7 separate regions of the Homo sapiens genome follow, and regions 1, 2, 3, 4, 6 and 7 are each linked to region 5. Evidence: promoter capture Hi-C in 16 types of primary human blood cells and fetal thymus (Javierre and others, 2016). All regions are on one chromosome and are shown on one strand. Each heading gives the region's core, a stretch centred on a gene start or on the middle of the fragment in contact. The rest is flanking DNA. Distances are from core to core; before and after follow the strand shown. Region 1 overlaps PCYOX1 (prenylcysteine oxidase 1). Region 2 has its middle 24 kb from the start of FAM136A. Region 3 overlaps TIA1 (TIA1 cytotoxic granule associated RNA binding protein). Region 4 overlaps AAK1 (AP2 associated kinase 1). Region 5 holds the start of SNRNP27 (small nuclear ribonucleoprotein U4/U6.U5 subunit 27). Region 6 holds the start of GFPT1 (glutamine--fructose-6-phosphate transaminase 1). Region 7 has its middle 3.8 kb from the start of C2orf42.

The links. Contacts are between HindIII fragments. The CHiCAGO score rates a contact against its expected background, and 5 or more counts as called.
Region 1: a contact is called between a fragment that was not itself captured here and the fragment with the promoter of SNRNP27 in region 5, in 1 of 17 cell types (neutrophils). The highest score is 6.1, in neutrophils.
Region 2: a contact is called between a fragment that was not itself captured here and the fragment with the promoter of SNRNP27 in region 5, in 1 of 17 cell types (neutrophils). The highest score is 5.1, in neutrophils.
Region 3: a fragment that was not itself captured here is called in contact with the fragment with the promoter of SNRNP27 in region 5 in 9 of 17 cell types (total CD8 T cells, naive CD8 T cells, fetal thymus and 6 more); the score reaches 9.5 in total CD8 T cells.
Region 4: a fragment that was not itself captured here is called in contact with the fragment with the promoter of SNRNP27 in region 5 in 2 of 17 cell types (naive CD8 T cells and total CD8 T cells); the score reaches 5.3 in naive CD8 T cells.
Region 6: a contact is called between the fragment with the promoter of GFPT1 here and the fragment with the promoter of SNRNP27 in region 5, in 1 of 17 cell types (total CD8 T cells). The highest score is 7.7, in total CD8 T cells.
Region 7: a fragment that was not itself captured here is called in contact with the fragment with the promoter of SNRNP27 in region 5 in 1 of 17 cell types (total CD8 T cells); the score reaches 5.8 in total CD8 T cells.

What each region holds. Positions count from the first base shown.
Region 1 is chr2:70,277,343-70,280,597 of GRCh38, reverse strand. PCYOX1 (prenylcysteine oxidase 1) reads right to left here. Exons shown (of 6, transcript NM_016297.4): 6 at 1-3,255. The coding sequence ends at 3,206. Among named protein-coding and RNA genes, the nearest start is that of SNRPG, 15 kb to the left of the region's middle. The HindIII fragment of the contact is 6,133 bases long and covers 1-3,255 here.
Region 2 is chr2:70,325,120-70,327,905 of GRCh38, reverse strand. No RefSeq gene overlaps it. Among named protein-coding and RNA genes, the nearest start is that of FAM136A, 24 kb to the right of the region's middle. The HindIII fragment of the contact is 7,913 bases long and covers 1-2,786 here.
Region 3 is chr2:70,215,698-70,218,819 of GRCh38, reverse strand. TIA1 (TIA1 cytotoxic granule associated RNA binding protein) reads left to right here. Exons shown (of 13, transcript NM_022173.4): 8 at 1,826-1,934; 9 at 2,321-2,416; 10 at 2,528-2,612. Among named protein-coding and RNA genes, the nearest start is that of C2orf42, 26 kb to the right of the region's middle. The HindIII fragment of the contact is 1,587 bases long and covers 877-2,463 here.
Region 4 is chr2:69,531,549-69,534,349 of GRCh38, reverse strand. AAK1 (AP2 associated kinase 1) reads left to right here. Exons shown (of 22, transcript NM_014911.5): 6 at 2,188-2,309. Among named protein-coding and RNA genes, the nearest start is that of SNORA36C, 13 kb to the right of the region's middle. The HindIII fragment of the contact is 1,626 bases long and covers 691-2,316 here.
Region 5 is chr2:69,892,443-69,895,471 of GRCh38, reverse strand. SNRNP27 (small nuclear ribonucleoprotein U4/U6.U5 subunit 27) reads right to left here and starts at 1,516. Exons shown (of 6, transcript NM_006857.3): 1 at 1,454-1,516; 2 at 258-378. The coding sequence starts at 1,487. RefSeq lists enhancers at 21-955, 1,154-1,213, 956-1,891. The HindIII fragment of the contact is 14,817 bases long and covers 1-3,029 here.
Region 6 is chr2:69,385,880-69,388,946 of GRCh38, reverse strand. It overlaps GFPT1 (glutamine--fructose-6-phosphate transaminase 1), which reads left to right and starts at 1,720. Exons shown (of 20, transcript NM_001244710.2): 1 at 1,720-1,882. The coding sequence starts at 1,876. RefSeq lists silencers at 1,301-1,410, 1,471-2,140 and an enhancer at 1,369-1,928. The HindIII fragment of the contact is 6,543 bases long and covers 1-3,067 here.
Region 7 is chr2:70,193,262-70,196,363 of GRCh38, reverse strand. No RefSeq gene overlaps it. Among named protein-coding and RNA genes, the nearest start is that of C2orf42, 3.8 kb to the right of the region's middle. The HindIII fragment of the contact is 4,295 bases long and covers 1-3,102 here.

The sequences.
Region 1 (3,255 bases), core at 613-3,112, 380 kb before region 5:
TTCTTCAAGTGTGGTTCCTATAGTAGAACAGCAGCATCACTGGGGAACTTAATAAAATGCATCTTCTTATATCCCATAACAAACTTATTGAATAAACAGGGTGGAGCCTAGCGATGTTTTAACAAGCCCTTAAGGTAACTGATGCATGCTCAACTCAGAGAGCCACTGGAGCAGAGCTGGCTTTCATTCAGCCCCTGCATCATTTTTACCAGTCTCTTCTATTAAAAAAAAAGGTCTGGAGCAGTAAGCTCTGACAGTGTTTTTTCTTCCAATAAAACTCTTAATACTATAGTTGCATAAAACTACCTAATGCGCCCAGAGTAGCAGGTTCTGCTAGGATTTTTCTCCCAGTAAAAAAGCACTCAACACTGTAGTTGCATTAAAACTACTTGATGTCCTTGGTGTATTGATAACCTGTTTTGCTTTTGCCAAAGCAATTTCAGATGCCCTACTGGAAAATTTATCCAGAGTAGGTTTGATGTAATACCAGCAACATTTTTAATTTTTTTTTTTTCCTTTTGAGACACAGTCTCACTCTTGCCCAGGCTGGAGTGCAGTGGTGCGATCTCTGCTCACTGCAACCTCCATCTCCAGGGTTCAAGCGATTCTCGCGCCTCAGCCTCCCAAGTAGCTGGGATTACTGGCACACGCCACCATGCCTGGCTAATTTTTGTATTTTTAGTAAAGACAGGGTTTCACCATGTTGGCCAGGCTGGTCTCAAACTCCCGACCTCAAGAGATCCACCTGCCTCAGCCTCCCAAAGTGCTGGTGAGCCACCATACCCAGCCTAAACTGGTTTTTGTTTTTTTTTTCTGAGACAGAGTCTCGCTCTGTTGCCAGGCTGGAGTGCAGTGGTGCGATCTTGGCTCACTGCAACCTCCGCCTCCCGGTTGAGGCAATTCTCCTGCCTCAGCCTCCCAAGTAGCTGAGATTACAGTAGCTGGGATTACAGACATGCGCCACCATGTCCAGCCAATTTTTGTGTATTCAGTAGAGATGGGGTTTCACCATGTTGGCCAGGATGGTCTTGATCTCCTGACCTCGTGATCCGTTTGCCTTGGCCTCCCAAAGTGCTGGGATTACAGGCGTGAGCCACTGCGCCCAGCCTAAATTGGTATTATAAGTAAAAATATATCCCATTGCAAAACAAGTCTACAAATGATGGAAATTAATTAGTATTTACCAACATTTAGCATATACATAACAGTATTACTTTACAAATTGTCTTCATTAAAACCACAAAAGGAAACAAATATGAATACCTCAACATATCTGTTAAGAATAAAACTAGAAAAAAACACTCTTTTGACAAACCATGAGTTTAATCCCCTACCTATCAAATATATCTTGGCAGTTTTATCAGCATATTAACATTCACAACTGTGGTAGGGAAGAAGTCATTTTTACTCAGAACCAAAGTTTACACTATTTTGCTAAAGTAGCTAATGCCATGATCTGATGAAGGACTTTGAAGTTTCTATTCAATGGAAGGATTTTTTTTTTTTAAGATGGTCTCTGTTGCCCAGGCTGGAGTACAGTGGCATGATCATGATTCACTGCAGCCTTGACCTCCAAGGCTCAAGTGATCCTCCCACCTCAGCCTCCCGAGCAGCTGGGACCACAGGCGCGCATTACCATGCCTGGCCAACTTTTTAAAAATTTTTTGTAGAGATGGGGTTTCACCATGTTGCCCAGGCTGGTCTAGGCCTTTGTAATTTTTTAATAACACTACATGTTAAATTGGTTGCATTTACTTTTGAACTCTTAATCTTTTGCTTGTTCTGTTCTACCAGTGTCTTGACAGTTAATCATGATCTTTGCACAGTAGATGCAGAACTAGTTCTGAAGTTTTGCTGCCTGTTAATTACCATTTGGATGCTTTAAAACCCTACAGGTGATTCCAATGTGCAGCCAAGGTTGAGACCACTGTCTTAAGATTTCAGCAACCAATTTCTCACCCAGAATGCTACAGTAAATGAAACACTTAACTCTTTGGACATATGCTGGACTTGGTTAACTTTGGTGTCATTCCAAGTATTCTGTTCTAGTGCCAACTGCTCAGGAGTTATTTAAGTTGCCTCTGCTGTTAGGCTGTCTGTGCTTATTATCAAGATTACTTCTAAAGTTCTTACTAAGAGAACTGAGAAAGTTCTAAAAGAAAGATCCTTGCAAAATGGATCTGCTTTGATACAGATTGGGCTTCTTAGGACTTCTAAGGCACTAAAACCCTTTGTAGGCATTTTCACACCCACATTGGTGATTCCCAACCCTGGGTGCACATTAGAAACTTTAAATAGCTACAATGCTAAGGTCCTATCCTCAGTCTTTGAATCTGAATCTCTGGTTATGGGGGGGTCTCAGTATTTTTAAAAGCTCCTGAAGTGAGGATTTAATACTAGAATGCCAGTTTCTTAATTCAGTAGCCCATATTTGCTTTTCATTTTACTTGAGATTTTTGTTTAACATCTTCAAGTTACATTACTAAGACTTCTAAATTTCACCCCTAATCAAATCAAGACAGAAGAATCAAAAGACAACATTCTGAAAGTCAAGGCTTTAGGCATGGGCACACGTACTTCAAACCGGTATGAAATTACTAAGAGTCAGGCATAAGACACCAGCTCCCATAAATTTTATCTGACTGAAGATTATATCTAGCTGTAAAATTCAAAAGGACTACTCCCCAACTAAGATGTCTTTAAGTTCTCCCTCAGGTACTCACCTTAAAATGCTCTACAATTTTGATCAAAATCCAGCGCGCCACTCCCAGACCTACTGAATCAGAATCTTCAAGAGAGGAGCTTGAGAATCCATATGGTTTAACAAACTCCAGGTGATTATTTTTATTTACTTTTGAGACGGAGTTTTGCTCGTGTTGCTCAGGCTGAAGTGCAATGGTGAGATTGGCTCACTGCAACCACCACCTCCTAACTCCAGGTGATTCTTATTATCAGACAAGTTTAAGAAAAACTCCTAATGGATAGTGAAAGAATACTTAAGAAATTTTGGAGATGGCATAAGTGCAATAGCTATACCTTCACACTTAATTAGAACCGTGTGTTTTCCTATGACCAGCAGGGATTACTTTTATTAAACAATGATAATGGCAAAATATCTGGTTCAAAATCATCTCTGCTCAGATTTTGTTCTTTTTTGCCACTGATAGTCATTTGGAACTAGGAGGGGAAAAAGGAGTGTGTCACTTCATAGTTCAGTTTTAAGTTTCTCATATAAGCCATCCTGATCAATCATGT
Region 2 (2,786 bases), core at 64-2,563, 430 kb before region 5:
TTCTCCTACAGTGTGGTTCTTTGTGTCTGTGGGGTACTTCATTGCACGGTCCTTTTGTTAGTTATTTAATCTGTTTCCTGTTCTTACACGTTTAGTTGCTTCCAAACGTGGAATATTATAAATGCTGTACTATACATCCTAGTTCACATATCTTTCCAAACATGTCTGCTTATCTCCCTCCTTCAAGATGAATTGTTGGGTCAAGGAGTTTTCATGTATTTGTGGCTTATGATATTCACTGCTAAATGACCTTGCTCTACAGGCTAGTCGTACCATTTACATCACCACCGTGTAAACGGTCCTTTTTCCTCTCATCCTCGCCTGCAAAAGGTTTTGCCCTGCTAGCCAACGAGTTGAACTGTGTGATAGGAAGAACCGTGATTTGTTTTCTTTTTGATTTCTTAAATGTTTAGTGAAACTGAATATGATTTCATACATGCATTAGTTTCCTCAGGCTGCTCTAACAAAGTGTGACAAGCTGCGTGGCCTAAAACAACAGATATTGATGGTCTCACCTCTGAAGATGGTAGGGAAGGATCTGCTCCCGCCTCTCTCCTGGCTGCAGGTAGCCTCAGCTGTCCCTTGGCTTGCAGGGCTGTCTTCTCTCTGTGCCTCTTCACGTGTCTTCCCTCTGTGCCTGTCTGCCTCTGTCCAAATGTCCCCACTCTATAAGGACACCCAGTCACAATGGATTAGAGACCACTCTATGACCTCAGTTTAACTAGAATATAAATTAATCCAAGTGTACAGGCCCTATTTCCAAATAAGATCACAGTCTGAAGTACTAGGGGTTGGGACTTCAACATATCTTTTTAGGAGGACAAAGCCTTCTCCAACGATATGCTTATTAGCCATTCCTATTTCTTTTTCCTTTGGTGAATTGCCCACTTCTCTTTTTTTTTTTTTTTTCTTTGAGACTGAGTCTTGCTCTGTCACCAGGCTGGAGTGCAGTGGCTCGATCTCTGTTCACTGCAACCCTGCAACCTCCACCTTCAGGTTCAAGCAATTCTCCTGCCTTGGCCTCTCAAGTAGCTGGGACTTCAGGCTCATGCCAGCACGCCCAGCTAATTTTTTTTTTTTTTTTTTTTTTTGTATTTTTAGTAGAGACGGGGTTTCACCATGTTAGCCAGGATGGTCTTGATCTCTTGACCTGGTGATCCGCCCGCCTCAGCCTCCCAAAGTGCTGGGATTACAGGTGTGAGCCACCTTGCCCGGCTAAATTGCCCACTTTTCTATTGAGTTTTTTGCCTTTTTCTTTAATTGGTAGAAACACTTTGTTATCATTCTTTTATCAGACACATATGTTACAAATGTTTTCCCAGTTTGTGAAGAACAAGGGTTTTTTAATTTTTGCATATCCATATTTTTCTGTTTTATTTCTCTCCTTTATGTCCTACTTAGAATCATCCTGCCTCAAGATTATAAGAACAGTTTTGCCTGTGTTTCCCCTAGCACTTTTTTGTTATGTTTCTAAATTTCAAATCTGGAGTTTATTTTGACATGAGACTTAGATCACTTTTTCCCCAAATGGCCAGCCAGTTGTTCTAATATGTTGATTGAGTGACTCCTCTTTTTCCTTGGTGATTTGAAGCCATCTTTATCTTTTATTAAATCCCTATATATATATTTGAATCTATTGTGAGCTCGTTATTCATTTGTAAATATTTTTCTCTATGTCTATTGCCATACTATACTTTATAATACATTTTAATATTTAAGGTAGATATTCTTTATCATATTCAAGGAAAACTTTCCATCCTTAATTTATTAGGTAATTTCGCCAAAACACATTTGTATCAAATGCCTTCTTACCATATCTGTAGATAATGACGTCATTTTTCTCATTTATTTATTCAACAAATATGTCTTGAACACCAACTATGTACCAGGCCCTACGCTGAGTACTAAATACAACAGTGAGCAAAATAGACATGGTCCCTGCCTTCATGATGCTTATTGCAATCTAGTGGAGGACACAGATGTTAGTCAAATAATCCCATAAAAAAGGTAAAAGTACGGCCGGGCGTGGTGGCTCACGCCTGTAATCCCAGCACTTTGGGAGGCCAAGGCGGGTAGATCACCTGAGGTCAGGAGTTCAAGACCAGCCTGACAACATGGAGAAACCCCGTCTTTACTAAAAATATAAAATCAGCCGGGCGTGGTGGCTCACACCTGTAATCCCAGCAGTTTGGGCAGCCAAGGCAGGCAGATCACTAAGTCAAGAGATCGAGACCATCCTGGCCAACATGGTGAAACCCTGTCTCTACTAAAAATACAAAAATTAGCTGGGCATGGTGGTGTGCGCCTGTAGTCCCAGCTACTCAGGAGTCTGAGGCAGGAGAATTGCTTGAACCCAGGAGGCAGAGGTTACAGTGAGCCGAGATCATAACACTGCAATCCAGCCTGGCGACAGAGCAAGACTCCATCTAAAATATATATATATATATATATATATATATATATATAAATCAGCTGGGCATGGTGGTGCATGCCTGTAATCCCAGCTACTCGAGAGGCTGAGGCAGAAGAATCGCTTGAACCCAGGAGGCAGAGGTTGCAGTGAGCCGAGATCGCACCATTGCACTCCAGCCCGGGCAACAAAAGGGAAACTCCATCTCAAAAAAATAAATAAATAAAAAATAAAAGTACACCACAACTGGTGCTGGGAAGAAAAGGATTACAATACTTAATCTGTGGTCCATGCACCAGCAGCCTGGGCTCCACCTGGGAGCTTGTTAGAAACACAGCATCTCCAGACCTTCTGAACCAGAATCTGCACCTTACCA
Region 3 (3,122 bases), core at 421-2,920, 320 kb before region 5:
TATTGCACAAGTTTCATAAAGTATCTTTATCCCCTTACTACCCATTATCCTAAGCCATTCTCCTCTTAGCGCTAAGAATGGCCTTCTTGCCGGGTGCGGTGGCTCACGCCTGTAATCCCAGCACTTTGGGAAGCCAAGGCAGGCGGATCACGAGGTCAGGAGATGGAGACCATCCTGTCTAACACGGTGAAACCCTGTCTCTACTAAAAAAGAAACCCTGTCTCTACTAAAAAATACAAAAAAAAATTAGCCGGGCTTGGTGGCTGGCACCTGTACAGGAGAATGGCAGGAACCCAGGAGGCGGAGCTTGCAGTGAGCCAAGAACGCGCCACTGCACTCCAGCCTGGGAGACAGAGCAAGACTCCATCTCGAAAAAAAGAATGGCCTTCTTAAAACATAGGTCATGATGATTCCTTGCTTAAAATCTTTCAGTTTCATTCTCTGACATTCTTTTTTGCTCGCTGGATTCCACTGAAACTAGTCTTTCACATGCTGCTTTCAGATGCATACCAAACTTTTGTGCCTTAACACACTTTGCAATACTTTTCTCTCTACTGGGGCTTTCTTCCTCATTGTTTTGACTTGGCTATCTCCTATTGCTGTCAGGCTTAGTTTAAATGTCATTTCAGAGAGACCTTTCTTATTCATCCTGTCTGTAGTAGATCCTTGTGCCCATATTCTCTATCTCAGCCTTTTGTTTCTGTCATAGGTCTTACCACAATATGTAATTGCTTTATTTGTTCCCCACAAAAGAATGTAAGAGACCATGTATGCTTGTTTACCAGTGTGTCCCTAGCTCTTAACCGCATGCCTGGAACATAACTGTTCAATATTTATTTGTTGGATGAATGAGAAACCAAATATTGTTAACAAGCTTGTTAGATTGTTTAAGATTTTCTTCTATAGTAGTCTGAGTTGCATGAACTTTATGATATCTACCTCATTAGGGCTGTCGGGCTCACGACCTTTTCAGATGATTAATGTTCCCAAAATTTAATATTCAAATAAGAGAAAAACAATACAAAAGCACCATTGGGTTGAGCATGGTGGCTCATGCCTGTAATCCTAGCACTTTGGGAAGCTGAGGTGGACAGATCACTTGAGGTCAGAAGTTTGAGACCAGGGCCGGGCACAGTGGCTCACGCCTGTAATCCCAGCACTTTGAGAGGCCGAGTTGGGAGGATCACGAGGTCAGGAGATCGAGACCATCCTGGCTAACATGGCGAAACCGTGTCTCTACTAAAAATACAAAAAATGAGCCAGGCGTGGTGGCAGGTGCCCGTAGTCCCAGCTACTTGGGAGGCTGAGGCAGGAGAATGGCGTGAACCTGGGAGGCAGAGCTTGCAGTGAGCCGAGATCACGCCATTACACTCCAGCCTGGGCCACAGAGCGAGACTTAAAAAAGAAAAAAAAAAGAAGAAGAAGTTCGAGACCAGCCTGGCCAATATGGCGAAACCCCATCTCTACTACAAATACAAAAATTAGCCAGGCATGGTGGCAGATGCCTGTAATCCCCGCTACTCAGGAGGCTGAGGCAGGAGAATCGCTTGAACCCAGTTGGCGGAGGTTGCAGTGACCCAAGATCACACCACTGCACTCCATCCTGGGTGACAGAGCGAGACTCTATCTGAAAAAATAAATAAAATAAAATTTAAAAATATAAAAAGCACCATTGCATTTTAGGAAAGCTATCATATGTTGTGTATTTCATAGAGCATTTTCACTTAAACATTTGTGAAAAGCACCAAGTTTTCTCTACTGCTAAGAGTTGTTTAACATCAACTAATAGTGACTTCTTTATTGTTTCTAATGTTGTACGGAACAGGATGCTGAAAACGCCATTCAACAGATGGGTGGCCAGTGGCTTGGTGGAAGACAAATCAGAACTAACTGGGCAACCCGAAAGCCTCCCGCTCCAAAGAGTACATATGAGTGTAGGTGTATTGGAGAAGAAAAGGAAATGTGGAATTTTGGAGAAAAATACGCTAGATTTTAAATGTTAGAGCTGTTCCCGGAGACTTATTGCAGAAATAGATGAGAAGCAAATCAAGACTACTATTCAAAAATGTACTTAGTTTTCATTTTTGTAATTATAAATAATATTATTTCTAATGTCAAGTCTCCTATTAAATAGAAAATACTGGGTAATTTTTTAGACATTCGTGGGGGAGGTTTAATTCTGAACTGAAGTATAATATGTGTAATATAAGCATTTTGATCAAGGTTAATGTTACCTTTACAGTAGTGTAGTGAATGCTACTTTTCTCTTTCTGCACATTTTATTTAATGAATTAAAGACATAAACCTTTTCTCTCACCAGCAAATACCAAACAGCTATCATATGATGAGGTTGTAAATCAGTCTAGTCCAAGCAACTGTACTGTATACTGTGGAGGTGTTACTTCTGGGCTAACAGGTATGGGAGCCTTCCCTGTGTGGCATTAATTTTTAAAGTGCAAAGCTTAATATTTGTAGGATTTTTATATAACTTAGTGTGATTTGTTTGTTTTGGTTTTTTGTCTAACAGAACAACTAATGCGTCAGACTTTTTCACCATTTGGACAAATAATGGAAATTCGAGTCTTTCCAGATAAAGGATATTCATTTGTTCGGTAGGGATGGTTTTTTAAAAAAACATTTTTCTTGGTAATGTAACTGGAAAACCAGAAAATAAATAAAAATAAAAAACTTTTTCCTCCAAAATATTTTTTGAACATTTACCTCGTTTTCTTAAAAATTTACCTTGGTTATAAAAAAGTTGAAATTTTGGCCGGGTGCGGTGGCTCACGCCTGTATTCCCAGCACTTTGGGAGGCCGAGACGGGTGGATCACCGTCATGAGTTTGAGACCAGCCTGGCCAACATTGTGAAACCCCGTCTCTACTAAAAATACAAAAATATAAAAATTAGCCGGCATGGCGGTGCATGCCTGTAATCACAGCTACTCGGGAGGCTGAGGCAGGAGAATCACTTGAACCCAGGAGGTGGAGGTTGCAGTGAGCCAAGATCACAATCACTGCACTCCAGCATGGGCAACAGAGCCAGACACCATCTCAAAAAAAAAAAATTGAAATTTCTCTAGCATCCAGCGTATTTGCCTCTGTGATTTTATAGCTCCCTCCC
Region 4 (2,801 bases), core at 254-2,753, 360 kb after region 5:
GCCTTGAGTAATTGCTCTGCTTCTAACCTGCTTCCTGTAGCAGGAATATAATTGCCTATCCTTTCTAGAGTGAGGTTGTTTAGGTTCACTTCCCAGCTGTACCAACTATTGGCTGTGTGACATTTAGCAAGTGACTTAATCACTCTGAGCCTCATTTTCTCCATCTGTGAGAGAAGGATAATAATCATATTGGGATTATGAGGATGTAGTGGGATAATCCATGTAAAATGCTGAGTACAGTAGTACTGGCAATAATAAAGCTCAGAAAATGATGGCTGTTATTTTTATAACCTCTAAATTAGATTGAAAACATTAGCGTTGTTTTGTTGGAATTATTTTAAATTCCTAAAGTGTGTATATGCTCAGGAAGCTTGACTGTGTCACTTTGTGTAAATAGATTAAACTGGTGAGCTTTATAAAAAAGACATAGATGATGGAAATATTTGCGTGCCTCAGCCTTATCTCAAAGGAATGAATCTCTCCTAATCTTTCATAACCCTATGCTTAAGAATTGTTCATCATAGAACATACCTGTGCAGGTTGATGGCTGTAGTTCAAACTACCTATGTGGCTGGAAATTCCAAGGTCAAAATTATAGATTAAAGTGATTCCAGGGTAGTAGTGCCCCCAGCTACACCAGTATATCCTCTCTGGAAGAACAATAGACTTTAAACCCAGATCTTACAAGCTTTTTACAGATTAAGTTCCAAGGAATGTAAGTTAACAAAAACAAAAAGCTCCTCACAACACCACCATAAGCAAGGTTTAGTAGGAGTAAGAAACAATAAACTGCAGAATCAGTTGGCAGCAGAGACTTCAAATATTGGAATTGGCAGATACAGACTATAAAATATACTTAATGTAATTCTTAGAAGAATTAAAAGAAAGTATAGAAACAAGTATAGAAATTAGAGACTATTATAATTGACCAGTTGTTTTTAAAAGAATCAGTAGTAGTACAGTAGTACGGCCTGGATATTTGGTGGCTCCTATCTTGCGCCTGACACACCAGGTTTGCACACACATACACACACCTACACAGTGTTTTTTGGTTTATTCCATTCAACATACATTTTTTATACCAAGCATTGTGTTAGGCACTAGGTAGAGAAGACCAAGAATATGATTATAAGAAGATGCTTATCTTTAAGGAGCTTATCTTTCAGAGTAGACTATTTTATAGTCTACTCTTGCCTTTGTTTTCCAAAGGTGATCAGTCTTTGGAAGGCTGAAGGCAAAAGACAATGGAGACTACAGTCTTAATGGCCTAACAAGATTTTTTGGCTGCCATTTTACTGCCCACACATAGCCAGGTCTGTCCTCCGGCATACTAGTCAGCTCAGTTCACCTAGACCCAAAATCAGTACACCTTGAGTACATAGTGCCCACTATTTTGGAGTTGTCATTTCATTTGTAGAGTCCTTTGATACCAGGGATTTCTCTAGATTTGGGGCTTTATAAGCTCCCTGCTGCCTAGAACTCCTAACTCACTGCCCAAAGAATTCATTTATTTAAAAAATTAGGGCAATACATTAACAGGAAAACTGCCCATTTATCCCCAGACATTTTATCACATTGAGAAGTAACTGAAACATAAGCAATATTAATTCTGAATATCCTAACCTAGTGTAGTAAAGACATTTATATAGGTACTTATAAGGTCCAAGTGAAGTAATTCACATCATGAGAGAATGAAATACTGAAGGACAATAGGGAAAGAGTGACATTTTATCTGAGTGGGAGCCTGAAAGTTTCAAAAAGGACATGGCATTTGAACTGGGGTTTGAAATGAGATTTTGATAGTTGGCTAAGGAGGTGGGGTTGTGGAGGGCATCCTGGCCTAAAAGAAGAGCAAGAGCAAAGGCACAGGTCAGAGGCTTGAAAGTATGAGGATGGTTTCTGCAGAGGTGAGAAATGTGGCTGAAATTTACAAAAATGGCACTCTTGCATCCCCCACCGTGGAGTTTCCTCTTTTTTCCCTCTCCACCCACTTTTCCCTCTTACTCTGCATCTCCTGTGTTCCACTTGGGATGACCCCTGTTGAGATACTTGGAGAGGAATAACTTCCCTGTGCACATTAATGAGACTGCCAGAAATAAAACGTTTATTTATGTGACTGTGAAACCAAATTTTCACGTGCATTACTAAATGATATCTTGGAATGGGTGGTTGGGGAATGTTTTTCAGGTTGAAAACATCCTCTTGCATGACCGAGGCCACTATGTCCTGTGTGACTTTGGAAGCGCCACCAACAAATTCCAGAATCCACAAACTGAGGGAGTCAATGCAGTAGAAGATGAGATTAAGAAGTAAGCTTTTTCTCCTTTCATGGAGTTTTGTCCACAATCAGATGAGCAACTTTACCTTCAGCTTATGGATGAGAAGGTCAGGGTGGGGAGAGAATGGTGATAGTCAGTTGTCCTTCATCTCAGAGCATCATGTTTACAGTTGGGTTGTTTGACTTTAAGTGAAGAATGAGGAGGGGGTTTACAGGCATACATCAGAGTAAAAGGAAGGACTCTTAGAGCACTTTATCAGTGGTCCTGTGGTCATTGTACATAGATGTTTTGATTTATGATGTCACAGAGCCTATAAAAAGCTGAGAGGTGCACACACCGTAAAAGTACTAGCATGTTTTTAAGTATGATCACAACAACCATGACATTATCAGTCAAACAGATGTGCTTTTTACTGAACCCTAAATTGCTCCTTTCTTCCTGCTCATAAGGCGATCTAAGTGGAAATAATGGTGAGTAGGTTATTAAAGTCTCTGCAGATACTGAATCACAGACTTTCATGAT
Region 5 (3,029 bases), core at 267-2,766:
TCTTGCCAAGCACCATGCTCTGGGGTTTGCATGCATTATTTCTTACTTACTCTTTCAAGACAACTTTGTGATGTAGAGTACTATTAGCACCATTTAACCAAGGTGAATGTTAGCTTTAGAATAAGGTTGGATTAAGTTTCCTCCATTTCAGGAAACCGTAAATCCCCTTATAAGCGATGAAAACAAAGTTAAGAGCTGCGACCAGTTTCTTAGGGACTTTCGGTAAATAAAACTCTTGGCTTATTTTCTGCCCTTACCGGGAGCGTCTTCGGTGCGGGGATCGCGAGCGGCTCCTTCTCCGATCTCTCTCCCGAGACCTGGACCTTTCTCGGCGCCTGCGTTCTCTCTCCCGGGATGTGGACCGGGAACGCCTACGTTCTAATGCAAACGCACACAAATTGCAGAACTGATAATTACCTCAAATATCTAGAGCTGCGCCGTCCAGTAGAAAAATAATGCAAACCATTACTAGTCACATTAAAAAGGTAAAAAGAGGCTGGGAGCGGTGGCTCACGCCTGTAATCCCAGCACTTTGTGAGGCTGGCGGGCGGATCACAAGGTCAGGAGTTCGAGACCAGCCTGGCCAACGCGGCGAAACCCCGTCTCTAATAAAAATACAAAAATTAGCCAGGCGTGGTGGCACGGACGGGTAATCCCAGCTACTCGGAAGGCTGAGGCATGAGAATCGCTTGAACCCAGGAGGTGGAGGTTGCAGTGAGCTGAGATCGGCCACTGCACTCCAGCCTGGGCGGGCGACAGAGCGAGACTCTGTCTCATTAAAAATAAATAAATTGATTTAAAAAAAAAACGAATCAGGGGCAGAACCGAGGGTCTAAGTTAGATCTCCTAATGGAAGTCCAGGGTTCTTTACGTCGCGCTGCCTCATTTATGGGGCTGGTAGCCAGAAAACATTACGAAGTGAGCTCCCAGGACTCAAAATTCTTAATATCGATTTCCCTGTAATGACCTGGGCAGGAATCTAACATTTATTAAGTATTTAAGAACCAGGCAGAATCACATACTGTATGTTATGGGATGTGACATTAATTCTCACATCAGTTTTTAAAAGTTGGCAATACTACCCTCAATGACTCATTCTGGGAATTCGATTCAGAAAGGCTGAGTAGTGACTTGCCCACCGTCGCCCAGAAATTCAGCAAAGGAACTGAGGTCTAATTCTAAACCCACCGGCCACAGTGTAATAAAAGTTATTGTATGAAGGTGACAAAGACTTAATGAAACTAATTCAGAGACAAACAACTGCCTTCAAACCGGAGAGGGCGGGCTGAAGAGGGCAGGGCCCAGGTCTACGTTCCTTTATCCACCCCTCGCTCTCCGCCTGGGAAAAGGGCCCGCCTCTCTGCTACGCGGCTACCAAAAACAAAACAAAATAAAACAAAAGGGACAGGCCTCCAACAGAGCCCCATATCCTCCGAATTGCTACAGGACTCACCCCTCCGTGGAGAGCGGCTGCGACTGCGACCCATTTGGAGTCCCGCTTCCCGGAAACAACTGTGCAACAACTTCCGGGAGGGCCGGGAACCGAGCTTTTACCGCCGACCAGAAAACGTCAAAACGAGTTGCGAGGGTTCCGGTCTTCTTTGTTCACGGTGGGCATTAAAACATGCGATTTGGTGTTATTATAGAAATTCCTGGAAAATTCAGCCGTATACCCATTATCCTAACACAGCTTTCATTTTTCCCCCATTTTTGTCCACATGCACAAAATAGAGCAAACCAATTGTAAACATAGCATAGACAAACAGCTTATGTTCTTCCACTTTTCCACATAACATTCATAAGGAGTGAATATACCAAAGTTCACTGTCCATCTGCTTTATATTTTCTCATGCCAGCATTGAGAAGGCACCCAAAACCTCCTATGGGCTCTTGGAAGGAAAACTAAAGGCCCCAGATTCCATCCTACCCGACAAAGTACTTCCCCAAAGTTGCCTCTGTCCTCAGGGAAAACAACAACAACAACAACAAAAACTTTAGAATGTTCAAAACTACAAAAATTAGGAGAAAGACTGTCTTGCCCCAAGGCTGAACCGTCTGTGGTAGAGCATAAATATGCTTACCAGGAAAGACTCAAACCTCTATTTCTTATTTTATTTTATTTTGTTCCAGGGTACATTTGCAGGATGTGCAGTTTTGTTACATAGGTAAATGTGTGCCATGGTGGTTCGCTACACCTATCAACCCATTAAGCCTTGCATCTATTAAGCTATTCTTCCCAATGCTCTCCCTCTCCCCAGCTCCTCCCCCTACAGGCCCCAGTGTGTGTTGTTCCTCTCCCTGTGCCCATGTGTTCTCATTGTTCAGCTCCTACTTATAAGTGAGAACATGCAATGTTTGGTTTTCTGTTTCTGTGTTAGTTTGCTGAAGATAATGGCTTCTAGTTCCATCCATGTCCCTGCAAAGGACATTATCTCGTTCCTTTTTATGGCTGTGTAGTATTCCATGGTGTATACGTACCACATTTTTTTAATCCAGTCTATCATTGATGGGCATTTGGGTTGATTCTATGTCTTCGCTATTGTGAATAGTACTGCAGTGAACATATGCGTGCAAGTATCTTCGTAATAAAATTATTTATATTCCTTTGGGTATATACCCAGTAATGGGATTGCTGGGTCAAATGGTATTTCTGGTTTTAGGTCTTTGAGGAAACACCACATTGTCTTCCACAATGGTTGAGCTAATTTACATTCCCACCAACAGTGTAAAAGTGTTGAACCTCTGTTTCTAATCAAACCAACTCTTTTCAGTCAGCTCTCTCTAGAATTATCAAGTCTAGTGACCTGGCTTTTAAAATACAAAGAGCTGGGGGATGGAAAGGGACTTTATTAGGTTGGAAAAAATGCCCACCAATCACATAAATTTTTAATTAGATTTATACATTCAGAGTGGCCTGTTTAATACCTGTCCCAACCCAAACTTCCAGGAAAGATCCAGCCATGACATCTAGGATTTCTACCAACAGCCCCAACCCCCAGATGCCTTTGGAATTACCCTGGCAAAGCATG
Region 6 (3,067 bases), core at 471-2,970, 510 kb after region 5:
AGCCTTAGATGAGGGTTCTGAGGCTAGATGTATATCCACAGTCTTTTGTTTCTTGAATTAAGAAATGTATTATTACCAAAAAGCTCACTGTTTTTTTTTTTTTTAAACTTTGCTCTGGGTGATCCAGGGACCTGTTTAAGGGATTGAAATATCAAAAGGGCTTTTAGGTGAGAAATACTCTGCTTAGTTAAATGTGACATTTTTCAGCTTCTCTGAGGCAAGTGAAAAAAGGCACTTTTCCCCGTAAGAAGAACTGAAAGCCTTATGCTCACTTAATCATATAACCAGCCATAGAAGGTTAATTCCGCTAAGAAAATAGGACTTTTTTTCACTCATTCCAAAATAAATTTGATCTTTTACTTTGTGCTGTGGTCTAAAAGTGTTGGGTATGTAAAATCTAGTTCTAGCTTCAAGAAACTTACAGCCCAGTGGGAAAATACAGAAAATCATAAAATATCAAAGAATATTTCTTTACAGTGAGTAGCTCAAAGAGTAAGAGGTTAATGCATGTCTCCAAGTCTGTCTAGGGGGGATAAAAAAGGCTTTCCTGAAGAGGTAGCATCTAAACAGAGACGTGGTGGGGATTCTATGCAGAGTAACCAAAGTGTGCAAAAGATTTGAGAATCTTGGCCCAGTTGAGGAACTACCTGTTGAGCCTGTTGGGAGTGTATAGGGCTGGAAGGACGGCTAAGACCAGACACATGAACAGCAGTCAGCAGGCTAAGACCAGACACATGAACAGCAGTCAGCACTCCAGGAATTCTGTGTGCCATGTACGTTTTTGATACTACTCTACTCTAGAGCCATTATAGAGTTCTGATTACTCCACATTTGACTAAAGATACCATTTAAGGCTGTTTAAAGCAAATGCCCAGGTAATAAATTCTCAGAAACATCATCCCTCTCTAATCAAGTCTCTCTTGTCAGACATGGCGCATTAATTCATAGAATGAATCGTTCGTAAGTCAAACGCGCGGCTGTTAAAGCTAGGGAATTCCTAGCCGTCTCAGGTGGGTCATGGGAGGAGGTGGGCCAGCAGTTTCTTACGTCCAGGCTCATAGTCGGATAGTTGAGCCTTACATTCCTCCTCTACCCCTCCACAATAAACTGAGGGTTATGGAGGCAACGGATGCGGAGGGCTTTTAGGGGCCAAGCATATTACACAAGGAATTGAATTGCTTATTACCAGAGAGGCTGACCTTTGGGGCTTTACAGTCAAGAATTTTGTTATCTCTCTCCTCCCACCTCAACCTAATTCTTTGCAATTTTTTTCAGCCTTATGTTCCCCAGGATTCCCTTTTCATACTTCCTGCTTTTTTCCTCCTCTTTCCTCGCTTCGTGCAGTGCTGGCGCCTGGGGCCTGGGGCTGCACGGGGCACGCACCCGGGCTATTGCTTTGCTAACAATTCCATCCTTCTCTTTCCGTCATTCCCTGCCAGGTGCTGAGTTTCTCCCTCCCTCTCGGCTCGGTCCCTCCCGCGGCTCGCCCCGGGGCGGGCGTCTCCAGGAACTCCAGGCGGACGCGGCCACGAGCCACTGCCACGTCGCCGCCGCCAGCAGTCCAGCGCCTGCGTGGGCTCGGGGGGCGGGGCAGCGCTGGGAGGCGGGACTTGCGCGTGAGCGGCGCGTGAGCGGTTCAATGGAGCCTACGGGCGGCGGCGCGCTGCGCGCCGAGGGGCGGGGCCCGGCGGCGGTTGCTGGCGGAGCCCGGGAGGCGGAGAAGGCTGTCGTTGCCTTGGCCGTCGCATCCCCGAGGGAGTCGTGTCGGCGCCACCCCGGCCCCCGAGCCCGCAGATTGCCCACCGAAGCTCGTGTGTGCACCCCCGATCCCGCCAGCCACTCGCCCCTGGCCTCGCGGGCCGTGTCTCCGGCATCATGTGTGGTAAGGGGGCCGGGAGCGGGGGGCGTGTTGCCGGGTGGCGCTGGGGTGCGGTGCGGGTGCCGCTAAGGCCCAAGGCGACGGGCGGAAGCGGGAGTGTGGAGGGTGCGAAGTCTGGGTGATGGGCAAGGGGCGCCCAGTGGTGGCTGCGGGGGCGGGGGCCGGCATCCACGGGCGGGAGAGGGGGTGGCGGCCGGGAGAAAGGCACCTGAGAGGAAGGCGGGCCCCCTTTGCCGGGGGCTAGCGGGCGCCTTGGCGCGGAGAAGGAACCGAAAGGGGAGAGAAACGCCTTTATTGAAAAAGGAGGAGAGAGCTGAGGGAATTGAGGTGTGGAGGGGGTTGCCTTCAAAAGGGCCCACCAGGTGAGTGAGGAAACCTGTGGAACCTCGGGCGAGGTCTCTTGAACTTACCTTGCATTTTTCTAAAAATCTTTAAAAAAATATTTTACTTGTTTCTGGGGAGGCCCAATAGAAAACAGACCCTAGCTAGAGCCACGGTAGTGCCATTAAACGTGATACTTCCTGCCATCCCTTGTCTCAACAGAAACCATTGCTAATCAATAACTTGGTTCATGGGCTTAGACCTGATCCTCTGGTGGAAGAGGCCTTCAAATGTCTGTGGCGATAGGTTATACATAATTTATCATTTGCGTGTGCACCCATTAAAAATGCCAGCTCTGAAAAATATCAGTTATACCTTGGATGTATACCCCTTTAGAATACCAACTATGAAAAATATCATTTATCCCTTGCATGTGCATCCATTAAAAATACTAGCTATGGAAAGTTGAGCAAATATCTTTCCTAGAGCCTTAAAAAATTAAGGTTAGGCCCTTTTATTCCATGTTTTGAGAGTCGTTTATTATGACCTAAGTGTTAGTGAAAGAGACTTTGAGAATCGTGTCTGACATGACTGATATCTTCTAAAATTGGTGTTAATTTGGCTATTGCCAGTAAAAATAATTGTATTCTTACCTTTCTTATTGAAATTTACAACCGACTTTATCCCTGGAAGAAAGTACACTTTTTTTTTTTTTTTTTAAAGGGAAGTACCATTGTAAGAGAATTGAAAACTCTCTGGGAGACTTCTTATTTGCAGCCTTTTACACGAAGGAACTGAACAGGAGGTGGATTGTACTCGTTAGTGTATATATTTCCTGTATTTAACTTTATGCTCATTTCAGCTTCT
Region 7 (3,102 bases), core at 211-2,710, 300 kb before region 5:
TGAGGTCAGGAGATCGAGACCAGCCTGGCCAACATGGTGAAACTCCATCTCTACTAAAAATACAAAAATTAGCCAGATGTAGTGGTGCATGCCTGTAATCCCAGCTACTCGGGAGGCTGAGGCAGGAGAATCACTTGAACCTAGGAGGCAGCGGTTGCAGTGAGACGAGATTGCACCACTGCACTCCAGCCTGGGTGAGAGTAAAACTCCGTCTCAAAAAACAAACAAACAAAAAACCTATGAAACACATGAGGAAACAAGACTCTACAAGAGATCCAACAGAAACAAAGAACAGCAGAACTGGACCTACAAGAACTTTAGAAAATCACATATTGAATTTGTAATAACTACATTTCATGTCTTTAAAAATAAAAGATGTAATACAAATATGAACAAGGAAGAAATGACTGTCAAATGATTAGGCAGATTTTTGAAAAACTAATAGAACCTCTAGAAATTAAAAATACAATAGCTTAAATTAAAAATTCAATAGGCTGACTAAACAAATTAGATACAGCTGAAGAAGAGAATCTGTAATTCGGAACAGTACAAGAAGAGGGTACAAAATATGAAGGGTACAGCCAGACACAGTGGCTCACGCCTGTAATCCCAGCACTTTGGGAGGCCAAGGTGGGAGGATCACAAGGTCAGGAGTTCGAGACCAGCCTGGCCAATATGGTGAAACCTGTCTCTACTAAAAATACAAAAATTGGCCGGGCGTGGTGGCAGGCAACTAGAGTCCCAGCTACTCGGGAGTCTGAGACAGGAAAATCAGTTGAACCCGGGAGGCGGAGGTTGTAGTGAGCCAAGATCGCACCACTGCACTCCAGCCTGGGTGACAGAGCAAGACTCCCTCTCAAAAAAAAAAAAAAAAAAAAAAAAAAATTAGCCAGGTGTGGTTGTGGGTGCCTATAATCCCTGCTACTTGGGAGGCTGAGGCAGGAGAACCGCTTGAACCTGGGGGGCGGAGGTTGCAGTGAGCCGAGATTGCACCACTTCACTCCAGCCTGGGCAAAAGAGCGAAACTCCATCTAAAAAAAAAAAAATAGTGATTTAAGGGGGTCAGGAAGGGATGAAGAAAGGTTGATTAATGAGTACAAGTATACAGTTTAGTAGAAGAAATAAGACATCATGTTTGATAGATCATAGGGTGACTATAGCTTACAATAATAATCTGTTGTACATTTCAAAATAGAAGAGAATAATTCAATGTTTCTAACATAAAGACAAATATTTAGGGTGATGGATATCCCAGTTACACTGATTTGATCTTTACAGATTATATGAATTTATTAAATTATTACATGTACCCCCAAAATATGTACATCTATTATGTATCAATACTTTATTTTTAAGAGAAGGGGTCTTGCTATGTTGCCCAGGCTGGCCTCAAACTCTTAAACTTCTGAGCTCAAGCAATACTCCTGCATCAGCTTCCCAAATAATTGAGATTACAGGCATGTACCAATACTCCAAAAAATTTTTTAAAAGAAAAAAATATTGGATTAAAATGACAACAGGGCACCAGGAGCGGTGTCTCACACCTGTAATCCCAGCTCTTTGGGAGGTTGATTCGGGTGAATCCCAGAGGTCAGGAGTTTGAGGACAGCCTGACCAACATGGAGAAACCCCATCTCTACTAAAAATACAAAATTAGCCGGGCGTGGTGGCGCATGCCTGTAATCCCAGCTATTCGGGAGGCTGAGGTAGGAGAATCGCTTGAACCTGGGAGGCAGAGTTTAAGGTGAGCTGAGATCGCGCCATTGCACTCCAGCCTGGGCAACAATGAGCGAAACTCCGTCTCAAAAAAAAAAAAGAAAAAGAAAAAGAAAAAGAAATGATAACAGGGGCTAGAAGGATGAGAGAAGTTAAAAAATAATTATTGTCAGTTGGCAAAAATCAAAGAACTATGAATATCTGCTCTAATGTGCAAATAGCATATAAATTCTTTTTTTTTCTTTTTTTTTTTTTTGAGACGAAGTCTCACTCTGTCACCCAGGCTGGAGTGCAGTGGTGCGATCTTGGCTCACTGCAACCTCTGCCTCCCGGGTTCAGGCGATTCTTCTGCCTCAGCCTCCCCAATAGCTGGGACTACAGGCGCCCGCCACCACGACTGGCTAATTTTTTTGTATTTTTAGTAGAGACGGGGTTTCACCGTGTTAGCCAGGATGGTCTCGATCTCCTGACCTCATGATCCACCCGCCTCGGCCTCCAAAAGTGCTGGGATTACAGGCGTGAGCCACCGTGCCCGCCCTTTTTTTTTTTTTTTTTTTTTTTGAGATGGAGTCTTACTCTGTTGTCCAGGCAGGAGTGCAGTGGTGCCATCTCAGCTCACTGCAACCTCTGCCTCCCAGGTTCAAGCGATCCTCCTGCCTCAGCTTCCCAGGTAGCTGGGATCACAGGCGCCCACCACCACACCCCACTAATTTTTGTATTTTTAGTAGAGAGGGAGTTTTGCCACGTTGACCAGGCTGGTCTCAAACTCCTGACCTAGGTGATCCGCCCACCTCGGCCTCCCAAAGTGCTGGGATTACAGGTGTGAGCCACTGTATATCTGGCCAAATTCTTTTCATTGAAAATGGCTTTAGCCGAGCATGGTGTCTCATGCCTGTAATCCCAGCAACTTTGGGAGGCTGAGGTGGGAGGATTGCCTGGGGCCAGTTCAAGACCACTGCCTGAGCAACACAGAGAGACCCACCACCACCCCCAATCTCTACAAAAAATACAAAAATTAGCTGGGCATGGTGGCGAGCTCCTGTAGTCTCAGCTACCCAGGAGGCTTAGGAGGGAGGATCAATTGAGCTTGAGAAATTGAGACTGCAGATCACGCCACTGCACTCCAGCCTGGGCAGCAGAGTAAGACCCTGTCTCAAAAATTAAAAAAAAAAAAAAAAAGGGGGGGGGCGGAGCCGGGTGCAGTGGCTCACACCTGTAATGCCAGCACTTTGGGAGGCCAGGGTGGGTGGATCATGAGGTCAGGAGCTCAAGACCAGCCTGGCCAAAATGGTGAAACCCTGTCTCTACTAAAAATACAAAAATTAGCCGGGTGCGGTGGCGGGTGCCTGTAATCCCAGCTACTGGGGAGGCTGAGGCAGGAGAATG